3 separate regions of the Homo sapiens genome follow, and all the other regions are linked to region 2. The links are contacts of gene promoters, found by promoter capture Hi-C in blood cells and fetal thymus (Javierre and others, 2016). All regions are on one chromosome and are shown on one strand. Each heading gives the region's core, a stretch centred on a gene start or on the middle of the fragment in contact. The rest is flanking DNA. Distances are from core to core; before and after follow the strand shown.

What was found. The method cuts DNA at HindIII sites, captures the fragments that hold promoters and counts their contacts. A CHiCAGO score of 5 or more calls a contact.
Region 1: a contact is called between a fragment that was not itself captured here and the fragment with the promoter of TEX13B in region 2, in 2 of 17 cell types (total CD4 T cells and naive CD8 T cells). The highest score is 6.3, in total CD4 T cells.
Region 3: a contact is called between a fragment that was not itself captured here and the fragment with the promoter of TEX13B in region 2, in 3 of 17 cell types (total B cells, non-activated CD4 T cells and activated CD4 T cells). The highest score is 8.4, in total B cells.

What each region holds. Positions count from the first base shown.
Region 1 is chrX:106,975,669-106,978,884 of GRCh38, forward strand. MORC4 (MORC family CW-type zinc finger 4) reads right to left here. Exons shown (of 17, transcript NM_024657.5): 8 at 2,412-2,531; 9 at 916-1,016. Among named protein-coding and RNA genes, the nearest start is that of MORC4, 23 kb to the right of the region's middle. The HindIII fragment of the contact is 1,499 bases long and covers 641-2,139 here.
Region 2 is chrX:107,980,618-107,983,983 of GRCh38, forward strand. TEX13B (testis expressed 13B) reads right to left here and starts at 1,753. Exons shown (of 3, transcript NM_031273.2): 1 at 1,693-1,753; 2 at 1,052-1,542; 3 at 247-942. The coding sequence starts at 1,510. The coding sequence ends at 463. It also overlaps the pseudogene LOC112267910 and the pseudogene NLRP3P1. The HindIII fragment of the contact is 6,409 bases long and covers 1-3,366 here.
Region 3 is chrX:106,864,277-106,867,332 of GRCh38, forward strand. TBC1D8B (TBC1 domain family member 8B) reads left to right here. Exons shown (of 21, transcript NM_017752.3): 15 at 1,283-1,351; 16 at 1,517-1,757; 17 at 2,521-2,586. Among named protein-coding and RNA genes, the nearest start is that of RIPPLY1, 38 kb to the right of the region's middle. The HindIII fragment of the contact is 1,720 bases long and covers 831-2,550 here.

The DNA.
Region 1 (3,216 bases), core at 140-2,639, 1.0 Mb before region 2:
CTCCATACTCCCAGAATACCTCTTACCCTTTTTTGCCCTTACAGATACTTCCCTCTGCTTAGAATGTCCTTCCTCTATTGTCCACCTAGAAAACTTTTCCTTCATATTTAATATCAAATATAATCTGCTTTGTGAAGCCTTCCCTGACTCCCTTAAGCATATTTAAAGTTCTCCCCACTTTGCACATACCCCCTATTAAAGCAATTATTTTATAAGTATTTAAGTTTCTTATTTGCATACATATTTGTTCATAGGTATCAAAGAGTCTTATTTTTCATCCTTAGTACCTGGCACATAGAAGCTGTCTCATAATACTTAATGAAATAAAGACCCATCTCCCTCTCGACATTTTTTAAACAAACTATTCTAACCTGGCTTTAAAAACTCCTTTCGAAAAATATCCCTACTGGTTCAGCCATAATGTCGAGTTCCTTTCAGATTCTTACCTGTTTGCCTGCCCTATTAAATCTAGATGCTTTAATGAAAGCACATGTCTTTCCTGCTGTTCCATCACTTTGCTCTAAATCTGTTCACTGGCTTCAAGAAAAATTTTTGGAACAAATTTCAAACTGCTTTTTTTTATCCAATGTATTCCATAACTTCAGATCCATTCATCTGTTTCCATTAAGATCAATTCCAAAGCTTTTCATTTCCCCAGAAATCTTTTACCAAATTACTCCTATGCTCTTTGCATAATTTCTAAAGGTAAGGTTTATCTCAACGAGACTCCATATATCATTCAGCAAACTTTAATTTAAAAATGAAAGCATTTTATCTCTAATCTTGGAAAACAAATTTGAAGTAATTCTCAGTTAACTTATTTAGCTGCTTTTTAGAGATGGTTTTAGAGGCTTTAGAGAACAGAATCATATCTGAACAAACTAACGGAAGCACCTCAGGTTGGGAGTGACTCACCGGTACTCCTTGGTATACTCAAAGTCTTGTTTGTTGTAGGCAGGTTTTAGGAAATTGCACTCAATGACTCCAATTACTCCTACACCTTCTCCACGAGTTGGCTTAGAAGAAAATATTAATTTCAACACTTACATTACTGTTGGCTGCCTGGAGGCATTTCCTTTTGATTCCAAACAATAATAGAAAGGTTACATAACCTTCATGGGCAAGAAAAGACCATCAAGATCTAGAGAAACACTTAGAATGTACATCAACAGACTGCAAGCATTAAACTGAACTAGAAATTCTGACAAATTCTAGGGCAGAGATTTTCAAAATATGATCCATAGATCCCTAGGAGTCTTCTGCAATTAGTAGCCATCTCTACTTCACCCACACTACCTCCACTTTTATCTGCTTTATATTCCAGGACTGCCATAAGACTGCATTTGAATAAAGAATTACCGTGCTAAAAAACCAAGGTTATATACTACTGTTCTAAGGAACTGAAACAAATATTCATCTGAAAACAATTTTAAGGGTTCTGTGTGATCCTATATTAAAATAAACAATTTTCCCACATACATAGGCCACCAAACAACTACTAAAGAGTCACACTTACAGCAATTATTAATTACAAGTTGACGCAAGAGTTTTATAGATTTAAATCATATTCTAATTCTTTAATGGAAGAAACTAAGTAAAGGTGTAATTGGACTGGAACACAAACACGAGTTGTCTAAAGGTGCTATAACAAGGGAAAACAAAATAGGCTGAAAACGAGCTATCCTGGGCTTTATATAACTGTCTTACTATGTTGAAGCAGTTCATCATTTTTTGTGCTTTAGCAATCTTATCTGTAAAATAGGAATAAAAGGGATACTTGTAGACATTACTACTTTAAATAATCATTAAGACATTAAAGATGATGGTAAAATTTGTATAGAGTGGTTTAAAAAATATTTTCACATAATTTATCCCATTTAAATCTCTCAACCCTGTAAGCTGTGAGGCAGGCAAAGCAGGTATGCTTATTATTGTTGTTTCCACTTTACATAAAGGTCAGGAAATTGAGCTTCAGATAAATTAAACAATTTATCCAAGGTTACACAGCTTGTAAATGGAAAATTCAGGACCCAAATCCTGGTCTTCAACCACCATATTTTATATGCCTTCCACTATGCCTTATTGTCTCTCCAAGAAAATGGAGTTACCTAAAACACAAATAAGCTGACACACATGGTAAGCTTGCTGGTATTCTAATTCTGCCTCTTATTGACAGCTACTTAGAAAATGCATTCAGTAAAGTTGTTGGGTTGATTAACAGCTGAAGAATGAGAGTTAGAAAGAGATTTCAACACAAGACAGCTCACTGGTAACACAATTCCAGGATCAGAATTCAATAAGCATCATAAGATGGGAGTAAAAGCCATTAATGAGCCTATCCCCTTTGCAAATTTTAAATTCTCTTCCTACTCTTTTCAGCCTCCTATGACAAAGAAATATTAACTACTCACCTTCACCTGGCACCCCACCTTCTCAAAAGATTTTATGAGTCGGTTGTTATGATACATCATTATTCCAAACTGGTTACTATTCTTGCAAGAGAACCCAAAGGTGATTCTCACCTGCTTATTCTGAGAAGAACATCGTTAAGGAGACAAACATACCAGGGGCTTCAACGACAAAATTTTACACCATATTATAGCAAAAACCATCAAATACCAAGGGACATAAATTGGTACAACCTTTTTGCGGGCATTTAAACATCTGTTGCAATAGCTTTAAGAATATTCTTAATATTTGACCAAGTAATTCTCTTTTTAAGAATTTATCCCACAGAAACAGTCAGGGAGGCCCACAAACGTTAAGGAATTACAGAGGTTTTTCAATTTGTTATAAAAGCAGAGAAACAGAAATAATTTAAATGTTCAACAATAAAGAAATGATTAAATAAATGTTGATATAGCCATATGCATCTCTTTTAAAATTATGTCCTTGAAATATTTGAGAATATCAGGAAACGCTCAGATTATAAAAACATCACACACACACACGCACACACACACACACACACACATGCATAGAAAGACTGTAAGAAAAGATACCTAAATACCATCAGTGATTTAAAAATTGACAAATAATCATAAAACATTTCTTAGCCCTTGCTAGTTGCTCAGTTTGCTGCTAGGGCACATAGGTTCTGATAAGAGCTGTAAATGGTCCAATACAAATCTGTACAATTATATCCAATAAGGTAAATCCTTCTTACCATACCAAACACAATGAAAGCAAAAGCAAAGGTAAAGAACAATGAATAGT
Region 2 (3,366 bases), core at 503-3,002:
TGCAGTAGTTCTGGAGTGTTGACTACTAATACTCTGAAATACAAATGGAGTCATTAAAACATGTCTCTCCCTGCCTGTCATCTACATCCTCCCACCCACAACCCCGCCTCCCCGCCCCCCTACTGTCCAATCTTCCCACTCATCCCCTTTCCCCCACTCCACCCAATCCCCCTCCCACCTCTCCCCTCTCCCCCTGAAGATTGATTTCCCATTGAGATATATTTCTGTTCTATTTTACATTTCTGAATTTACTGAGGCTTTTGCAGCCAGATTCGCCTCCCACAGAGGAAGCAATTTTCCCTCCATGAAAAATTCACAGCTTTACACCACGGGCAGTCCCAGTTCCCTGGCCTGCGATATACTGGAGGTCTTCTCTGCTGATGGAGTTCGGAGTCTCTCCTGTCTCTTGGGGGCTCTTGAGGGTCTATTCCCTGGGCCTCCACATCTGACCACAGGCTAGCATCAGAGGCCCCCCAGTTGAAAGGCATCTGAGTTGGAACCCGTTCTGTGACCTTTGCTGGTGAAGGGGGTATATTGGGTATGGCTGAGAAGGCGGACAAAGGGCATGGGTATGAGTATGTGAATGAGGTAGGGAGCTGGACAGGAAGAGGCTCCAGTGAGACTGTGGACCCAAGCCCAGAGAAGACAGACATGGCTGTTTGTACTGACCTGAGATCTTTCTCCCTCTGCCCCGCAAAGGTGTAATTTGCCTGCTACAATAGCTCCGAGGGGCTGCCTGAAGCCTCCTCCCAGCCCCTGCAAGACCTCTGCGGGGGCAGGCCCTGCCTCTGCATACCTCTCCTCTCCTTTTCCTCCAGCAGCACCAGCAGCAGCCACCGCCTCCTTTTCCTGCTCACCTGCTCCTTCTGTCCAATCCCCTCCGGCAGTGGCCAGGCCTGGAAACACTGTAGCCTGGCCCTGTCCCTGGGGAGGTGCCAGCTCCTGGAGAGAAGTAGGCAGAGCTGAAACACATTCTGGGGACAGGGCAGGGGGTCCGGACAGGTTGGGGCAGGGCAGAGGCATTGGACAGGGACCATTCGGGGGATCTTACGGCATGGAAGAGCTTCCATCTCAGCATGTCCCGCTCTCTCTGCACCTCCGCAAGGCTGGTCTCGGTTAGCTGCAACTGGAAGGTCGCCTCATTGCATTCCATCTCCTGCTGTTCCTTGAGTTCCGTCAGGTTTGAGGCCAAGACCAGCGCAGCTGATCTGTGCAGTTTGGCAAAGCCTTGCAGCCACTGCACCCTGCGGTTTTGTAACTGCCCCTGCCTGTGGGCAAAGCGCACACCCAAGGCCAGGCTGCCCCAGGTGCAGGCCTCTTTGACCTCGCTGGGCACCTCGCTGTCCTCCAGGATGGCCCTGAGCTTGTCTTCCACCTCCTCCCAGGATAAGGATATATTCTCGAAGTAGAACTCGGGGCCTTTCGTGTGCCTGGCCATTTTCTCGATGATGAAGGCCACCACGTTTCCGTGCCGGAACCCACTACTGGGGTCCTCAGGTCTCAAGGCCATGATCGCCTAGGGGCTTAACGGTTTCACTAGCCCTGTGTGGATGGAGCAGCCAATAGGTTTCTTTCCTCCTCCTTAGCCCCTCCCCTCATCTGTCTTCTCCGCCCTCCCACCTCTGACAAGACCCTCCTAATGACCCTCTGACCGGCTTGTCCTACCCTAGGACATCTCCCACCAGGCCTCACCTCTTCAGCCAGGGCCAGAGGAAGTACAGGCCAACCCCGCTGCTTAACACGCCTGAAGAGAGGGTGGCCTCTTTCCCTCCTAGGGCTCTGCGGGAAAAGAAGCCTCAGGGCCAACCCATGAGGATTTTACTCTGGGACTGTTCCAATTTCCAGAGACTGTAGGGGTGAAAGGGAGTGAGTGAGGAAGGCCTCTGCCATTCCACTGGGACAAAAGGGAACCTGCCACATGGTCGGGAGACCTTGAAGGCTGAAAGAAACAGGAGTGGTCCGGAAGGACTTAGGACCAAAAAAAGTATTTGTGAACAAGTTGAAGACTTATCCCTCCCCATCATAATGGTTTGTGCCATGCCAGGGGAGTTTCGCCCCCAACTGGAATATTCTAGAGCAGGAAACAGCCCCAACCCCTCAGTTGCCCTTGGAGGAAGAGGGTGGAGCCAGGAGCGGAGCTTATCCCCTGTTTGCTCAGGACTAAACATCCCAGACACCCTAACAAATCCTGGCCTGCCTTTCCTCCCTTAGCTCCTCTTTCCCCACACTCCTCCCATCACCCCTTCTCCCACTCCTCCCCTACTGAAACGCCTTGAATCTTGAAGCAACTGTGGGAGAAAGAGAGTTAGGAGTAGCATAAATACACCTTTTTACCAAAACATGAAATATCAGAGATCTTCCATCAGAGGGATATGAATATGTCTCTTAAAACCTTCGGCCGGGCGCGGTGGCTCATGCCTGTAATCCCAGTACTTTGGGAGACCGAGATGGGCGGATCACGAGGTCAGAAGATCGAGACCATCCTGGCTAACAGGGTGAAACCCCGTCTCTACTAAAATTACAAAAAATTAGCCAGATGTGGTGGCACGCGCATGTAGTCCCAGCTACTCGGGAGGCTGAGGCAGGAGAATCGCTTGAACCCACGAGGCGGAGGTTGCAGTGAGCCGAGATCGCACCACTGCACTGTAGCCTGGGTGACAGAGTGAGACTCTGTCTCAAACAAACAAACACAAAAACAAGAAAACCTTGAATGACTTTCTGAGACCCACAAGATAAATCAGACAAATCTCAGGTTGAGTCCAGCGTTGCTACGTATTACATGACATTGTACTGTAACTGAATCTGTTTCTACCTATGGATCTATGATGATGGCCAATGACAAAAGGGCATGTAAAGTTGTAGGAGTAATGTTTTCTATGATCCCGTATTTGTGTGTATGTGTGTGTTTGCATATGTTTGTATGTTTCTATAATCTTGGAGAACAGAATGAGAGAGGATATATAGCAGACTCAACATTAATTATCTCTGGGAAGTGGGGTTGGACTGGAGGTTAGAAAAAAAGTTTTTAACTTTAAAATACATTTTTCTCTAATTTCGCTTGTTACAAAGAGCATATAACTAACTATATGTATGCATACATCACAAATCTGGAAAGTTATATACTAACACTTTAACAGTGGTTATCTTTGGGTAATAGGAATACAGTACTTTAAAAAATATTCTTGACATTTTTCTCTATTGTAAAATTGTTTATAATAAACGTGTTATGTTTTTCAAAATTGAAAAAAAATGTTTCTCCCAGTAACAGCTGATCATTGTAAATAATTTTTAAGTGCTTGGAAAGTACTTCTATAATCCTACCCTTCCTTCAACCTGGGTGATAATCCCTCTTAATAGTTATATAGT
Region 3 (3,056 bases), core at 441-2,940, 1.1 Mb before region 2:
TCCCGTATTGGGGAGCTTCTCCTGACTCCGCATTGATGCCAGATAGGCTGCTGCCCAGCTTCCCTCCTCTCTGCTCTCTGTGTCCCCTTGCTGCTTTGATGGTTCCCAGTGTGGTTTCTTAGATGATTGGCTTTTAGGGTCAGTGTTCACTAAACCCTTTGTTTCCCCTCCATAAGAGAGCAGCACCCATGATCTGCTTCTAGTTTGTCATATTGGCCCCTCCCATGCTGGGCACCTTTTTTTTTTTTTTTTTTTTTTTTTTGAGACAGTCTCACTCTGTCGCCCAGGCTGGAATACAGTGGCATGATCTCGGCTCACTGCAACCTCTGCCTCCCGGGTTCAAGTGATTCTTGTGCCTCAGTCTCCTGAGTAGCTGCGATTATAGGCATACGCCACCACACCTGGCTAATTTTTGTATTTTTAGTAGAGACAGGGTTTCACCAAGTTGGCCAGGCTGGTCTTGAACTCCTGGCCTCAAGTGATCTGCCTGCCTTGGCCTCCCAAGTGCTGGGATTACAGGCATGAGCCACCATTCCTCTGCTGGGCACTTTAAATGACTTCTGTATCCATGCTTAAATTATCCACTTCTCGATGATAGTCATTTGTGATTTCTTTCATCTCACTTGCCAGAAATGTGTCTATCTTATTGATTTTTTCAATAAACCAACTCTTAATTTTATTTACTGAGTCTACCGGGTTTTTTTAATTTTCTGTATTTCATCAATTCTAGCTTTTTTCTTTACCTTTGCTTTCAAATTTCTTAGATATCATAATGATTGTATCATTAGTCCTTCTTCTTCATGGAATAGGATAAAAGTACATATTTTCTAAGCTTATTACTTCTTGGATTATGTTTTTTGGCATAGAGAGGGAATGTACATCTCCCAATGCCTTTGAAGTATTTAATAGCAACCTCACATGATGACTAGATATGCTGCTTATGTGGCAAGAGAGGAATATATGGAATAGGACTTAGAATACTGTTACTTATATTTATAGACATTAAGTGGCTGTTCTTTGGCAGTGATTTCTGAGTATGAAGAGATGAATATCAAAGTACATATTAGAGTAGAATTGAACTAGTCTACTACTACTTTTTAAAAGGAAAAATAGATAATAACTTTATAATATAATAACTTATAATAACTTTTTATTATTCATTTAAGAAGTTAAAACACAAATATTTTCTTCTAGCAGAGAGAGACTCTAAGGTAATTCAAAGAGAATTTCTTTACTGCAATGTTAAAATCTGTGTACTAAATTGCTTTTAATCTTTTTAAAGTTGCGTGTTGTATCACAAGATGTGAAATTGAGCCTTCAAGAATTGGATGAACTTTATGTCATCTTTAAGGTACTGTTGTTCTTCTTTAAATGAAAAATAATGCTTTTTTTTAGCAGAATTGTATCACAGCCATTCTAATTATTTTTATCTTTATTTTAGCAGACATGGTTTTTAAAATCTTCCAAAATTACTTTTTCTAATTAGTAACTTTCCTTTTTTATTTATTTTTAATAGAAAGAGCTGTTTTTATCTTGTTATTGGTGTTTGGGTTGCCCAGTATTGAAGCATCATGACCCCAGTCTGCCATATTTGGAACAGTATCAGATTGACTGCCAGCAGTTCAGAGCGTTGTATCACTTGTTGAGTCCCTGGGCTCATTCTGCAAATAAAGACTCACTAGCTTTATGGACATTCAGATTGTTAGATGAAAACTCTGATTGCCTTATAAACTTCAAAGAATTCTCCTCTGCAATTGGTAAGATGATTTTTTTAAGCAAAAAAAAAAGGTGCTCCTAGAAATACTTAGTACTGCCTATTATTGCCAATTTAGTCAGATTATATCACCATGGGTTACAGTGTGTTTAGCTTTAGTAATAAATGGACCCTTTTCTGCATTTGTTGCTAAATCTAAGTATTTTGATATTATTTTCCCCAACCCTTTCAGAAAAGCAAGCTGTTAGATGTGAGTGTTTTAAGGGTTAACATAAGGAAGATAACGTCCCAATTTTCCCACACTCAGATGCATGGGTACTACCGAAGGACTTCCCCCACCCCACCGACCTCCCCGTAAAAATTCAACCACATAGCCTAGAAGAGTGGTAGATAAATACCCAGCAAACATGTTGTACCTACAGATAGTCAAGATGTTGTACCTGTAGATATTGTTCATTTGCTTTTCCAGATACCCCAGCATGCTTTCTTATCAGGGATCACCCCTTGAAGAACAGTTCTCTCCTGCACAGGCCTCATTCAAAAGAAAAGAGAAATCTGAGATTGGGGGGAAGGAGCTAGGAAAGAGAACATTTTACTTTTTTGATAAAGAGTATTTTGCTTATACAGTTATACACTTGAAGGAGAGCATCTGATTGACTAGGTGGTTGTTTAATTGTTAGCTTAAGTAACAGGTTTCTAAATCCTAATTTTTGACTAATGTCTATATCTTAATTAATCTTTGTTGCTGAAATTGATTGAATGTTCTTTAGATACATGATTATTTACAATTGAATTTTATTGAACAGACATAATGTACAATGGAAGTTTTACTGAGAAGCTTAAGCTGCTTTTTAAGCTACATATTCCTCCAGGTAAGAGTTTACCAGTCTTTAACGATGTACAGCAGGAATTTATTCCATTTTAGCAAGTATAATTACAGATTTTTTTAACAACTAAACTAATTTTCAACATGATATAAGATCGTTGCTTCACTGTGGCCCTCAAATTATATTATGACTACTTTTTGCTGATATAGATACAGTGATCTTCTATGGAAGAGATTCTGTGTAACATATGGGCCCACAAGTTTCCTTCCTGTTAGTAGTCAATTTAATGATAAGTAGTTTGTATATAAGAATCACATATCATTTGATTGTTGGTATAATGTTGAATTGTTGTTGTTGTCATTAGAGTGGAAATTAACTTTAGACAAACTGCCAAACCTGCGAAATACTACAAATTATTCAGAAAAATGGGACAAGGAAGCAGGGATATTAAATATTTTAAAAAGGAAGCACAATAAACGCTATCATTTATTAAGCACCTGCTCTGTCAAGACATT